Regions from separate parts of the Homo sapiens genome. Here all the other regions are linked to region 1. The links are contacts of gene promoters, found by promoter capture Hi-C in blood cells and fetal thymus (Javierre and others, 2016). All regions are on one chromosome and are shown on one strand. Each heading gives the region's core, a stretch centred on a gene start or on the middle of the fragment in contact. The rest is flanking DNA. Distances are from core to core; before and after follow the strand shown. Region 1 holds the start of GRID1 (glutamate ionotropic receptor delta type subunit 1). Region 2 has its middle 56 kb from the start of GRID1-AS1. Region 3 overlaps LOC105378404 (a long non-coding RNA gene).

The links. Contacts are between HindIII fragments. The CHiCAGO score rates a contact against its expected background, and 5 or more counts as called.
Region 2: a contact is called between a fragment that was not itself captured here and the fragment with the promoter of GRID1 in region 1, in 1 of 17 cell types (activated CD4 T cells). The highest score is 5.1, in activated CD4 T cells.
Region 3: a fragment that was not itself captured here is called in contact with the fragment with the promoter of GRID1 in region 1 in 1 of 17 cell types (total CD4 T cells); the score reaches 5.0 in total CD4 T cells.

The regions. Positions count from the first base shown.
Region 1 is chr10:86,364,167-86,369,009 of GRCh38, reverse strand. It overlaps GRID1 (glutamate ionotropic receptor delta type subunit 1), which reads left to right and starts at 2,215. Exons shown (of 16, transcript NM_017551.3): 1 at 2,215-2,696. The coding sequence starts at 2,618. RefSeq lists silencers at 1,517-1,726, 1,837-2,226, 2,247-2,296, 2,527-2,726, 2,757-2,906. The HindIII fragment of the contact is 11,562 bases long and covers 1-4,843 here.
Region 2 is chr10:85,519,323-85,524,165 of GRCh38, reverse strand. No RefSeq gene overlaps it. Among named protein-coding and RNA genes, the nearest start is that of GRID1-AS1, 56 kb to the left of the region's middle. The HindIII fragment of the contact is 1,714 bases long and covers 1,521-3,234 here.
Region 3 is chr10:85,558,913-85,563,755 of GRCh38, reverse strand. It overlaps LOC105378404 (a long non-coding RNA gene), which reads left to right. Exons shown (of 6, transcript XR_946157.3): 2 at 1,872-1,998; 3 at 2,435-2,553. Among named protein-coding and RNA genes, the nearest start is that of GRID1-AS1, 16 kb to the left of the region's middle. RefSeq lists an enhancer at 4,613-4,843. The HindIII fragment of the contact is 3,990 bases long and covers 1-3,894 here.

The DNA of each region.
Region 1 (4,843 bases), core at 966-3,465:
GGTGAGGTTGCCCCAGGTCAACAACTTCCAGATGAGATCCACCTTGAGTCATGATCCTCAGATGCCAAGCCACAGGAACCTCATCACCCACCTCATCATCCAAACTGGAACTTGATGGAAATCATTCCACAACTATGTGTTGGTGGGTTGTCTTCTTAATACTTGGAAGGAGGTCTTAATACTTATCCCACTGAAATCATGCTACCTACACCTAGCAAAACATACATCAAAGAAAAACTTCTAACTGGGTATATCACATGCCCACTGTACTAACACACTGGAGAACCCCCAACAACAGGAGGCCCGGGGAGAGTCCCTGACCCACAGGGACTTCAGGTCAAGACCACACCCACCATCCTTTCAAGGTGGAGACAGTCCCCGTAGGAACCAAACTGATGTATAATAAAACTCATCATTTATTTCTCTTCTCCCTACAGCATTTCAGCCAGTGAATGGTAGAATTTTGCAGGAATAAGAATTAGAGGTGTAGAGGGTTTTGAGATGCGGGGTGGGTCAGGTTTCACTACTCAAGGACCCTAAGACAGGTTTTTGGAAGAAGTGTGTGTGTGTGTGTGTGTGTGTGTGTGTGTGTGTGTAGGACCACATTCAGCCACTCCCATGGGCAAGTATGACATATGACCACTCCTCTCTTCTTGCCCCCTGGCCTCCTTAACCTAGAAGTCACCTTGCTGGCTCATGGGATTCCTTGATACTTCTGCAATCCAGCTTCTCCGCTCCAACAGGCTGTCCCTGCCCAGCTGAGCTGGCCCACCCAGGGTTCCCTCACAGTGCTATGGGCCTCCACTGGCCCCCTCTGCACAGCCCATCCTCTCCAATCTTTCTTTCCAAAGTGAAATCTACCAATGCTTACTCTTTGGCTCTGGCCACATGAGAGACAGACAGACATACAGACACACACTTCTTTCTTTTTGCCTTGGCTCACCACTATTCAATGCCTGGAAGCCTTATTTTCTCCCTTGGGAACCTCCACTCAGTCTTTACAACTGTCATCTCCTCCAGGAAGTCATCCCTGCTCTTCTTCCCAGGCTGGTTCAGAGCCCAGGCATCTGAGCATACACAGCTCATTCATAGCCCCCCCCAACATTTAAAAGATGACTTGGTTGGGTGTCTGCCTCGCCCACTGCGCTGGGAGCTCTGGGCAAGGGCTGTGGTGGGAGCCTCTCCCCCTGGTGCGTGGCGGGAGTCCTGGGGCCCCTCCGCGGACAACAGGGCCCGGGGACGTTCCCAGGCTTGCTGGAGGAGCAGCTTTTGAACGAGGCTCTGCCAGGTCCCAGACCCCAGGAAGCTCAGCTGTCTCCTCGAAATCTTGGGGGTGCCACATGGAGCCCAGTCCCTTTCAGGCACGAGCCCACAACAGCTTAACGCTCTCTTTGGTGGTGGCCGGCCCGAGGCAGGCACCGGAGGCGGAGGGAGCCCTGTTCCGCTGTGGCCGCGAGGAGCGGGCTCTTCGCCCGGGCTCGCACATGAAAGCTCCGTGCAGGGTCGGAGTCTGAGCCCGCCGGCCGCTTGGAAGGCTCCTCACGTCCAGGCGCCGCGGTCACGGCTGCGCTGGTTTCCGGCCATGAATTGGGCTTCAGAGTCCGAGCCTCTTGCCCGACTCCCGGCTGAGCGCGCTGCCCATGGAGCGGGGGATGGGCGCCCGCCGAGGTCCGCGCGGCCAGCCAGGGTTCGAGCCCACGGCCCGGGCTCTACTCTGAGATGCTTGCGGCGGCCGGCCCCCTCTGGCTCCCCAGCTGTCCTGGGGCCTGGCCCGGCGCCCCGCCCCGGTCTCTCTTCTTGCTCCCCAGGTCCCACTCCACGAGGAACGGTCTGTTTCGGCCGGGGACATGACCCGAGACGCGCGGCTGCTGAGGTCGCCAGGGCGCTTCGGGAGCCCCTCGAGGGCAGTTAGCGGCCGGCCCTCCTCCATTCTCCCGCCCCTGGCGAACCGGAGAAGGAGGCCCGAACCGTCAGAGCTCGGCGCGCCGCAGCCCAGGCCGGTCCCCGCCGCTGTGCCGGTCTCCGAGCGTCCCCCGAGCCGGGAGCGTGGAGCACCCGGCGCCCCCTCCGAGCCGCGAGCGGGCGAGAGCCGCGCGGCGAGGCTGAGGCTCCGCAGTCACGTGGTAGAGAGGCGGGCGGAGGGGAGGGAGGCGGGCAGGGAGGGGAGGGGGAGCGGAGCTGAGGGGGAGGGGGAGGGGAGGGGGCGTCCTCCGCAGTTCGCTCCTCGCCGGGGCTCAGACACACAGCCAGCCCAGAGCCGCCACGCCGGCCCGGCCGCCGCCGCCACCGCCTCAGCCTCCCCCGAAGCCGCTCTAGCCGCGGGAAGCGCCGCTGCCACAGCCGCGGGCCGCCCCCGCCGCGCCGGCCTGGGCTCAAGCTGCCAGCACCGCCGCAGCCGCCACCGGAGCCGGAGCGGGAGCCCGACCGCGCTGGGCTGGGCTGGGCTGGGCTGGGGCGGGCGCAGGGCGCAGGGGCGGGCGCGCGGGGGAAGACGCACGGGCGGGCTCGGCTCTCCCGGGGAGCGGCCCGGGACTGCACCGGGACCAGCGCCTCCCCGCTTCGCGCTGCCCTCGGCCTCGCCCCGGGCCCGGGTGGATGAGCCGCGCGCCCGGGGGACATGGAAGCGCTGACGCTGTGGCTTCTCCCCTGGATATGCCAGTGCGTGTCGGTGCGGGCCGACTCCATCATCCACATCGGTAAGCGCGGCTGGAGGCCGGGCCGAGGCTGGGCGGGGGCCCCAACGGGGCAGGGGGTGCGCGGCGTCCAAACTTGGCGTTTCCCTGGGCCGAGGGGCTCGGCGGGCGGTGCTCCCCCGAAGGGCCGCGCCGCGCCGCCCGGCGGAGGAGCTGTGCACCGGCCGCGCCGCGCTCCCGCTGGCTGCTTGCCGCTCCCCGGGGCTCCGATCTCCGCGCGGGGCCCCGCGGCCTCTACCGACACTTAGGGCCGACGCTTCGGGGAACACCGGGATGGACGCGCGTCGAGACCCGCGCCCTTAGCGGGGCCGTCGGCGGGTCGGGAGGGCCCTTCTGCGCAGCTCAGAGCAGCGGGGGGCAGGGGGAGGTACAGCGGGGGGCTCGCCAAGTTGGCAGGGCAAGATCAAAGAGGCCGGACCGGAACCGTGTGTGAATGTGTGTGGGTGCGTGTTGTCAGCGTGTGTCGCTGTGTGCGCCTGGCACGGTGTCGGTGTTACTGTGAGAGGGTGTTGGGGTGTGTGGGGCCATCTGAGCGTGTGTTGGTGCGTGCACGACTGTCTGTCAGCCTGTTAGAGTGGACACAGTGTCTGCCTGCTTCTCCGGTGTGTGTCTGTGTAGCCCTTGGTGTATGTGTGAGTGCGTGTGTATCTGGTTGTGGCGACTGCATCCCCATCCTGGACAGTCCTAGAGTTTTGCGTGGTCCAAGTCTTGGGGGCCCAGACGGTCTGGGTGGTGGGAGCCGAGGGAAGAAGCGTGGGCAGCGGGGGGTAGGGGGATGCTGAGCGGGAAGAGATGGATAGAGAGAGAGAACCGGGAGAGAAGATGAAAGCGCAGAGGAGGAGGGGGCGCGCCGAGGGGGAGTGGGCGCGCCGAGGGGGAGTGGGTGGGAGTTGGGAGCAACACGGGAGGAATCTCGGGAAGTTGGGCCGAGTTGGGGGGCTGACAGCGGTCGCTTTGGGGGAGTCCCTCCGCAGTCGTCTTTCCGGAAGTTGGGAAAGACCAGCGAGCACAGGGAAACTGGGGGTTGGGAGGTGTTGAAGGCGAGGAGGACGGGACAAGGCGGGAGGGTGGGTGGTGGAGTGGGGTGGTGAGGACTAGGCCTGGGCTCGGAGAGCTACGATTCCTCCTCAGGGGCCCGTGACCAAACCTGCTTCCCGCCCTGGAGGGGTGCGGGTCTCGCGGTCAGCATTGCGGCGCCGGCTCCGGGTGTAGTGAGGAATCCGGGCCTCCCTCCTCCTACCCAGCCCCCAGCTCGAGGGATCACTGGGCCTAGCTCCGGGACCTCAGGGACCCTCGAGGCTTGGTGAGGCGGGATGTGGGTGGCTGACTCCAGAGCTGTCCAGGTTGCAGGACTAGGCTCGGGCTGGTCGCACTGATCTCGGCTGGAAGCGCAGGGTCCGTGGAAGCTGTGCTAGGCGCACAAAGCGCCAGCCGGAGGGCGCCCTGGAGGAGCTGTCCGCGGTTCTAGAAAGCCCTTCAAGAGCAGCTCCTTCTGGGACCCCCAGCTCCGCTAGATCTGAACGTGGAGGCGCCTAGGACACAAGTCCCCTTCCCCCACTCCCCTCGACAGACGTACAGGAAATGGGAGTGGGGAAGGATGGAGAGTAGGAGGCTGAGCTCAGGGCGCCAGGCCGGGCAGCGTCACAGTCATCCAAGCTGCAGGCCATCCGAAGCCCCTGCCTAAGGAAGACCCCTCTGCGCAGGAAAGCCAACTGTAGACCTGCTTCGCTCAGCTCCACTCAGCAGGGGACGTGCATGGAGAAGGACCCATCATTCTGTCCTGGGATTTGGGTGGGGGACACCACCCTCCCGGGGAACTTCCTGGCTCCTGGGATGGGATTTATGGAACCATGTCAAGGCATTTGGGCGCTGCCTGGGGCCACCCCAGCTTGGCTTAGTCCCTTGTGTGGAGCATGGCTAGGACATGTGGTGCCTTGGTTGTGAGACACGTGTGTGACCTGGTGGCAGCCTGTGGGATGTGCATGTGTAACTCATGTCAACTGTGTGCACGTGTGCGCTGAGGGCTGGTGGGGGGAGGGGAACATATTCCTGTGCAGGTGGAGATCGGAGAGCCTTAATCTACCCCGCCAAGCTGAAATCCCAGTTCAGACTTCCCACCACCCGGCAATCATCGGTCTGCGAGTGCCTTG
Region 2 (4,843 bases), core at 1,128-3,627, 850 kb after region 1:
ATTTTTTTCTTGTGGTCATAGGAATTTAGAAATTTGCCATACCAGCTGGGCCCTGAATGCTCGATCCATGGGTAACTTTTGTTTTCTTAACCTTAGGGCCTGTCTTAGTTGATAAAGCAGTATCTATTTCAGTCTTTCAGACCACACAGGTATTGAGGATAAGGAGAGAAGCAAGGGCAACACCCTTCCCTAGTTCACAGGCCACTTGGCAGAGTGAACAACATAGAACAGACCCAGTTTCAGATCAGAGCTCTTCCAGTGACAGCAGGTTAACACTAACAAGCCCTTCTCCTTGCTATGCCTCAGTTTTCTCCCCTATAATTACTGTTGTTATCTTTCAGATTCAGTGCTATTAAAAAATGAAGCCCTGATGGAAACAGAAGACTCAAGGAAGAGACGGCAGATTGCAGCAGACAAGATTATAGCAGACAAGATTAAAATATAAGATCATTCAGTCTGCGTTCTTTGTTTTGGCATATTTGTTTTTAATAGGCTTTCTTCTTATACACAAAACAAAAGCTTATACTAGAAACATTATTCAAAAAGATAATAGTTCACATTTACTAAATTCCTACTTGGTTGCTAGGCCCTGAGCAAAGTAAATTACACATTTTATTGCCATTGAGACTTGGAGTGATTGAGTTACCAATGTGGCAGGGCAAGTAAGTGGCACACCAGGATTTTAACCAAAGTGCTAACTTCAGAGCATAGAATCTTGATTATTAACCTATTTTTCTAAGAAAAAGGGGGTAAGTTAATCCCATCCCACTGTAAAGTAATGTTGGTTAGCATTCTTCCTTCTTTTTTTTTTTTTTTTTTTTTTTTGAGATGGAGTCTTGCTCTGTCGCCCAGGCTGGAGTGCAGTGACACTATCTCAGCTCACTGCAACCTCCACCTCCCGGGTTCAAGTGATTCTCTTGCCTCAGCCTCCCCAGTAGCTGGGATTACAGGCTCCCATGACCACGTCGGGCTAATTTTTGTATTTTTAGTAGAGACAGAGTTTCACCATGTTGGCCAGGCTGGTCTCTAACTCCTGACCTCAGGTGATCCACCTGCCTCAGCCTCCCAAAGTGCTGGGATTACAGGCATGAGCCACTGGGCCTGGCCACTTCCTTCTTTCTAATATTTACAACTCTTATTTTTGATCTTGATAACACTGAGTTCCACTTCCAGATGAATATTCAATAACATTGACATCATCTTACTTTGTATCAGATTTCAAAGTTTTAATTGAAATAGTTACATGAAAAGTTGAGGAAGTTGAAATCCAAAAATCTGGCGGTGCAAATATTCTGAGGTAAAAAGTTTCCAGGTTCTAGGAAGCCTCATAAAATCCCATAGCTGGAGAGGCAGATAGGGGCTTGACCAAGACCTGATAGTCAATGTCTAGTTCTTTTGCTGAGTACAGTAGGAAATTGCCAAAGAATTTTAAGCAATGGAGGGGAAAGATATAATGAACATAGTTAAAATGTTCACTTAATTGAAAAAATGTTGGTAAGTCATGTGGAGAATTGAAAGCTTTGTTTGCTACTAGCAGGGGTGTGAAATGGCACAACCATTATTGAAAACAGTATGGCAGTTACTGGGAAAAAAGGGCAATTCATTCGGTAATCCCCATCATGGCCTCAGGTTTCTGCCTGGGGGACAGTTTTCTGATGGCTGTGTAGTGAGCTGGAGTCCAAGCAAAGAACAGCAGCATCACTGATCAGAGGAGGTAGATATTAGGGTTTGAGAAAACCAAAGTTGCTGGAATTTAATAGGCAGGCACTAGAGGATAGAGAGCTGGACAGAGGTTTCCTCATGAGTCTCCATGAGTCCTTGACAAGGACCCAGGGCTGTACAAGTTTAATGAGAAACTTAGAAGATGTAGCTGTTATAGGATGGAGAACGGAACAGATACTAGAGCTCAAGCAGTGCTCAGGGATGTTGGAGATATCCACTTAAGACATCTTTAGGCTTTCCCTTATGATATGGTTTGGCTGTTTCCCCCCACCCCAATCTCATCTTGAATTGTAGCTCCCGTAATCCCCACATATCCTGGGTAGGACCTGGTGGGAGGTAACTGAATCATGGGGGCAGGTTTTCCACTTTCTGTTCTCAGGATAGTGAATAAGTCTTATGAGATCTGATGGTTTTATAAAGGGCAGTTCCCCTGCACATGCTCTCTTGCCTGCTGCGATGTAAGACGTGCCTTTGCTCTTCCTTTGCCTTCCACTATGATTGTGAGGCCTCCCCAGCCATGTAGAACTGTGAGTCCATTAAACCTCTTTCCTTTATAAATTACTCAGTCTCAAGTATGTCTTTATTAGCAGTGTGAGAATGGACTACTACTCCTTATAAGGAAAGATTAAATTTTTAGTAAGTTTTATTTTATTTCTCTTTAAAAAGTCTGAAAACAAACTTTAACAAGATTCTGAAAAAGAGACAGTGTTTGGAAGTTGAATCTTGCCATGTTAAAGAGGACATGAAAACAGAACTGCTTTTCAACAGATCTTCCATAATAAGATGTAAGAAAACTTACTCAGTTGCAAGGTGAGCAAGAAGTAAACTACTTACTAGAACAAAAGCCAACACTCTTTAGAAAAAGATGACAGAATCCAAAGTCCATACAACTCTACACAGCAATGTCTAGTAGGAAATCAAAAATTGCTGAACATAGATAAAACTAGTCATGGGGGAAAAAAGTCAATAGAGATTGACCACAAGATGGTCTTTAATATGGACTTAGCAGAAACACACACACACACACACACACACACACACACACACACACACACACACAATGTAAAACAGCTACTATAAAGTGCTGGAAGAACATAAAGAAATATGTTTAAGGAATAAAATAAAATATTATATTAATGAATAAGGCATTCAGAAATCACCTAAGAGGAATGGAAACTATGACAAATAACAAAATACACATTTAGGAATTCATTGCAGGAAAAATTTATTGCATGGTCAGATCAGCAGATTGAAGGTAGAGAAAAATTGAGGAATCAAACTTGACTCAAAATCTAAAGAAATAATCTAATCCAAAGAAGAGATAAAATAAAGGTAGAAAAAACTATCAACAGAGCCTCAGGGTTATGTGAGTCAATATAATATGGTCTGATGTGTGTAAATAGGATTTCTATAAGGAGACTAGATGAATAATGATACAAAAATGCTTGAAATACAATAACTGAAAAGTTACAAACTGTGATGAGAAACATTGACTTACAGATATAAGAAGCTTAATGAACTCCTAGCAGAATAAATACAGAGAAAACTGCTTCAAGGTGTATTATAGTCAACCTACTGAAAACCTAAGAGAAAGAGAAGATATTTAAAGTATCCAGTGAAAAAAAGTCACATTATATACAGGAAAGCAAAGAGGAGAATGACCAATAACTTCTCATCAGGAAGAGAGCAGGCCAGGGTACAATGCAATGACATCCTTAATGTGCTGGGGTGGTGGTGGTGTCAGTCAACTCAGAATTCTATACAAACTAAAAATAACATCTAAAAATGAAGGGCTAATAAAGACATCTGATAAATAAAACTGAGAGAATTTGCTACTAGCAGACTTGCAATGGAAGAAATTCAAAATGTTCTTAAGGTTGAAGAAAAATGATATCAGACGGAAATTCAGATATCTAGGAAGCAAAAGAAAGCAACAAAAATTGAAAAGAAGTAGTTACACATAAAAAGCTATTCATTTTGCTGCTTATAATTTCTATAAATAATAACTGTTTACCACAAAATATTAACATCATAAAGTAGGATTATGGTGTAGAAATAAAAAGTGGCACAATAGCACTAAAGAAAGGGGTTATGTACATATAACTTTACTGCTTTTTAATTATTACATTTGAAAAGTGATAAGTGGGAGGTGTGAAGAGCATAGTGGAAAGTGGAAGCATCAGAAGAGGAAAGTGTCAGGTGTGAAGTGGAAACATTAATCTGTCTGGCTACTGGAAATTAAGTACAGATTATTAGCCCTAGAGCAACTATAAAAAATAATGAAAGAGATATTGATGAGAAGTTAATAGACGACATAAAATATGTGATTGTGTTCGAGTATCACCCACCTCCAACCCCCCCCCCAAAAAAAAGCAAGAAAACATCAACAGAAGAACAAAAACAAAAGACAAAAATGGAAAACAAATAGCAAGAGGTCCTTCACGTCCCTCGTAAGTTGGATTCCTAGGTATTTTATTCTCTTTGAAGCAATTGTGAATGGGAGTTCACTCATGATTTGGCTCTCTGTTTCTCTGTTATTGGTGTATAAGAATGCTTGTGATTTTTGTACATTGATTTTGTATCCTGAGACTTTGCTGAAGTTGCTTATCAGCTTAAGGAGATTTTGGGCTGAGACAATGGGGTTTTCTAGATATACAATCATGTCATCTGCAAACAGGGACAATTTGACTTCCTCTTTTCCTAATTGAATGCCCTTTATTTCCTTCTCCTGCCTAATTGCCCTGGCCAGAACTTCCAACACTATGTTGAATAGGAGTGGTGAGAGAGGGCATCCCTGTCTTGTGCCAATTTTCAAAGGGAATGCTTCCAGTTTTTGCCCATTCAGTATGATATTGGCAGTGGGTTTGTCATAGATAGCTCTTATTATTTTGAGATACGTCCCATCAATACCTAATTTATTGAGGGTTTTTAGCATGAAGGGTTGTTGAATTTTGTCAAAGGCCTTTTCTGCTTCTATTGAGATAATCATGTGGTTTTTGTCTTTGGTTCTGTTTATATGCTGGATTACATTTATTGATTTGCATATATTGAACCAGCCTTGCGTCCCAGGGATGAAGCCCACTTGATCATGGTGGATAAGCTTTTTGATGTGCTGCTGGAT
Region 3 (4,843 bases), core at 650-3,149, 800 kb after region 1:
AGAATGCAGTTTTTTAATAGAGAAAGGACAATTTATGTTTTCTTTGATCTTAGGTCAGTTGTAATAATTTTTTAAGACTTTTTGATTTTATTCAAATTTTTACATTTATTTTCCAAAAGTTGACCATAATATCCTTTATTTTTAAATTTGATGTCTTTTTATTTTTTATTTCTGATTTTGGAAATTTGTCCTCTCTTTTTTCTATTCATTAGCATTAACAAATTTTTAAATCAATTTTGAATTCTATTTAAAGTATAAATTTTTGTTGTCAATCCTCTTGATCATATTTTGTTTTTTATTTAATTAATTTGATCTCATATTGATTTTCTTCATATACTTCCTTTGTGCTTCCTTTTTCGATTTAATTTTCAGTTTGTTATGTCTTCTGACTCTCATGGTAGATTATTATCTTATTTTATGTAAGCACATCTTCAGCAGAGGCTATTTTTGTCTATAGAAATATTATATATTCTAATTTTTATAATTGTTAATATGAATAGCTTTGATTTATTTTTATTAGATAGCCTACGAGTTTCAACAGTTTGGAGCTAGATTTAACCTTTTTTTATTTGTGAATTATTTTTTATTCATAGGATTAGACAAACTTTTGATTTCATTTGCATACATGAAGCAGTTTATGAGTTTAATTCCACAGGAGATATAGAAGACATTTTTACCCACCCAAAGCCCTAGGCAGAAGCATGTTTACTTTTCATTTCTCATTGTCCTGGGGAGAGAGTGTAAGTATTCTCTTCTTCCTATCACTTAGGTACAATCCTTCTATGATTCTGATTCTGAGCAGAGCTGCTCAGCTCATCCTCTGGTAAATTCAAGCCAAAAGCTAAGTGTTCTCTTTCTGAGGCAGCACCAAGACCCCCAGCCCTTCCCTCTGAGGTCTGAGTCTTTCATGCTATCACACCAGACTTCTACAGAGACATCTATAGGGCTTATTGTTTCATTAATTTTACTCATGGTTTCTAGATTTCCTTTTCTTTTAGACATTAAAATACTGCATTGGATATTGCAGTATGTTGTGTACTGGATACTGGATGCTGCATTGTGATAGAGATGTATGCTAACTGCTTCCACAATATTGTTGGACTCCTGATTCTAGTCTACCTTTATAAAAGTTAGACTGGAGTCTGATTTGTGTGTTTCAAGTGAGGTAGTGAGGATAACAATATTAGCCTGGATATTATAGTAAGGTAACTATGCATTTGGATGATCAGGAAACAAGACAAAATGGTTAAACTGTGTAACATAAATTTTATTCTGTTTGCAAGATAGCAAGCATATAAAAATACTACTCCTGAGACAGCCTCAATATCAGGCAAGCCTTAGCAAACAATGTGCCTTGGACTTAAGCATCAATAAATCAAAATGCAAAATTTTTTCTTCTTCACAATGCAAATATACGTAAGAGTTGAGGCTGAGCATAAGTCCACACTGGGAAAAAATAACTAAGCCCATCAGCATGCATTGGGTTTTAGTGAATTTGGCTTCATATACCCCTAATTTAGAGTGTCCCAAAGTTTGCAATTAAAAGCTACAACTGAACAGTGGCTGAACACTGACTCATTAGTAGAGACTTACAAAAGCTCAACAAAAACCTCCTAAATTATAGACCATAGCTATTCACAAGGCTTTCTCAGTTTTGGCAAAGCAGTGTTTTTAAAGGGTAAGAGTGTGTTTGGGGATGGAATTGTGTATTTTTTTCATCACTACGTATTTATTTATATCAATATTTTATTGTGTCACAGATACAGAAATGGGCAATAGAACTTCATCATTCAACAATCTAGAGGAAAATTCTTTTAGTTTTTTTTTTTTTTAATTTTCACCTATTTCTAACTCCATCTCTCTCCCATCAGGTTATCCATAGTGTGTAAAATCTACATGTTTTGGAGCATATTTTTATTCTTAAAAAATAGTGCTACAGATTATGGTGGATAATGCAGGTGCCCCACCACATCCCCTAGCTGCCGTGAATGTTGACTGGTAAGACCCCCGATAATCCCCTTTACTGAATTATTGCCCTTAGCTGTATGAGAGATACCCCTACCTTGCTTCTTTAAAACAATAATTTCAACTTTTATTTTATATTCAGGGAGTACATGTGCAGATTTGTTACAGGGGTATATTGTGTGATGCTGAGGTTTGTGGTACCAATGATCCTGTCACCAGTTAGTGAGCAAAGTACACAACAATTGGTTTTTTGCCCCTTGCCCCCACTTCTACCTCCCTCCTCTAGTAGTCCCCAGTGTCTATTGTTCCCAAGTCTATGTCCATGAGTACCCAATATTTAGCTCATACTTATAAGTGAGAACATGCTGTATTTTGGTTTTCTGTCACTGTGTTAATAATTTGCTTAGGATAATGACCTCCAGCTACATCCATGTTGCTGCAAAGGACATGATTTCATTCTTTTTTACAGCTGGATAGTATTCCATCTACCTTGCTTCTTGCTTCTCTCATTCTTCTTTTCTTAAGAGAAGCACTTCAACAAGAATTCTTCTCAGGCTCTGCTTTTGGGGAAAGCAACCTAAGACACAGGTTTGTTATAGAAATTATATTTGTACTCATATATATTAATATTTTAGGTATATGTGTATTTTGATAAGAGCAGCAAGAATGGCAGAATAATTTGAAAAAAAGAGGAATAAGAGGAGAGGAACTTTTTTATTAGATAACATGACCAAATAAACCTTATAGTCATTAAACAGTGTTTTAGACATAGTGATATCAACTCTAAGAAACAGGATGGAAATGCAGAATGAGAATCAGGTGTAATTATTTTGTTACTGATACGTAACTAGTGCTTAGAACACAGTTGAATACATGGTAGACAATGAAAACATATTGATCAGATGGAAAATTGACGTGCAACAGAGCTGGCATTACAAAGCAGTTGGGAAGAAGGGATCATTCCAGTAAAAGGTTCTGACATAGTAGCTTATCCATATGAAAAAAAAATTGAATCCCATCTTTATACTGTAAAAACAGATCAATTCCAGTCGGTTAAAGATGTAATTGTAAAAAGTAAAATTTTAAAATGTTTAGCAGAAAATATAGCAAATATCTTTATGACCTCGATATTGGAGAATGCTTTTTCAAATACATCAAGAACCACGTGAACATAAAGAAAAGATGGATTTCAAACTTTTAATTAAAAATATTCTGCATCAAAAATACAAACAAATGGAAAAGATAACCCACAGATCAGGAAGCATATTTGCTGTGCACAAAACTGACAAAGAATTAGCATTCAGTAGTGTATATAGAATTACTATAAATCAATAAGAAAATAGATGAAAATTGAAAAACAAAAAAAAAGATATGAAGAAGTAAACCCCAAAGAGTAAATAAATACATGTTAAGATTCTCAACCTCAGAAGACTTCTCGTATTCATCAGATAAATAAATTTTATAAGGCAACAACTAACAATATTATCTGAATGTGCCACATGTTAGCAGAGATGTCAGTAAAGAAAAAGGATGTACCGCAGGTACATCCATGCGGTAGCAGTGAGAATATAATTGGAGTCACCACTTTGGAGAATCATTTGACAATATCTAGATAAATGCAAACACTACTGTTATAGGAATTTCAGATTTAGTATTATACCATAGGTGAATTCATACACATGTGAACAAGAAGACATATACAAAAATGCTCATTTCAAAATGACTTGTAATGTCAAAAAATTGAAATGATCTGCCCATGATGACAAGGAAAGTACTAGGTAGTATATTCACACAATGAAATACTGTACAGTCAAATAAACATACTGGATGTACAAACAACAACAGAGAGAAAACTCAAAAACACAAAGTTAAATAAATCAAGCTGGTTGCAAAAGGATTCATGCAGTATGATATCTTTTTTAGAAAGCTTTAAACATATAAAATAATACTGTATATTGTTTCTGCACAAATACATATGTAGGAGGAGCATAAAAGTATAAGCAAGGGCAGACTAATTTTAAACTCTTGCCAGAGATAAGAGAATATGTTCTTGGAGGTTTAATGTTCAATTACTTATGGGGTTGAATTTTATTTGAAATGTTTTATTTTTTAAACCAAGGGAAACATTTATAAGTTTTTGGTTAAATGATGTATATTTTTCTATGCCTGAACATTTTATTGACAAAAAGGAAAAATAATCTTATGCTATTTTGTATGTTTTTAAGTGTACATTATATGCAGATATATATGTGGATATGTATACATACACACATATATCTGTTTACACAAAATATACAGCTTAGTTTTATACTTAATTCCCTCAGTGATTTGCTTGCTTGTTTTCTATTTATTTATGTTGTACTATGCAGATCATCAATGTTCTGATAAATTCTCAGTGATCCATTTTATTACAGTATTCATCCTTCCCATTTGACTTTTATTCTTCTAGCAATGGACAGTTGAATGCCTTCTGTTCTTCTACTCAACCTCTTGTAGACCTATGCAGAAATTTTCTTTGTGATATGGATGAATCATAGAGTGTGCACATATGTAACTTCCATGCACACTCCCAGATATTTCTAAATCAGATAGCCCCAAATGGCATCTCATTTTGCACTTCTACCAGAAATGAATAAGGGATTATATCTTTCCACAATCACCTCCCAGTCTGTCATTGGTTAATAAAATCGACAGCATTCTTTACTAAACAGAAATTTTAAAATACAATATAACAAAATTAATTAATTCATTTTTACCTCATACTATTTTATTTTATTTTTTCATATCTGGTTAAGCAAGTTTGCTCTTAGTCCAAGGTCACAAGAACCCTCTTGGCTGAGGACTAAGTGTTCTAAATGTTCTAGCAGGGAATTTCAGC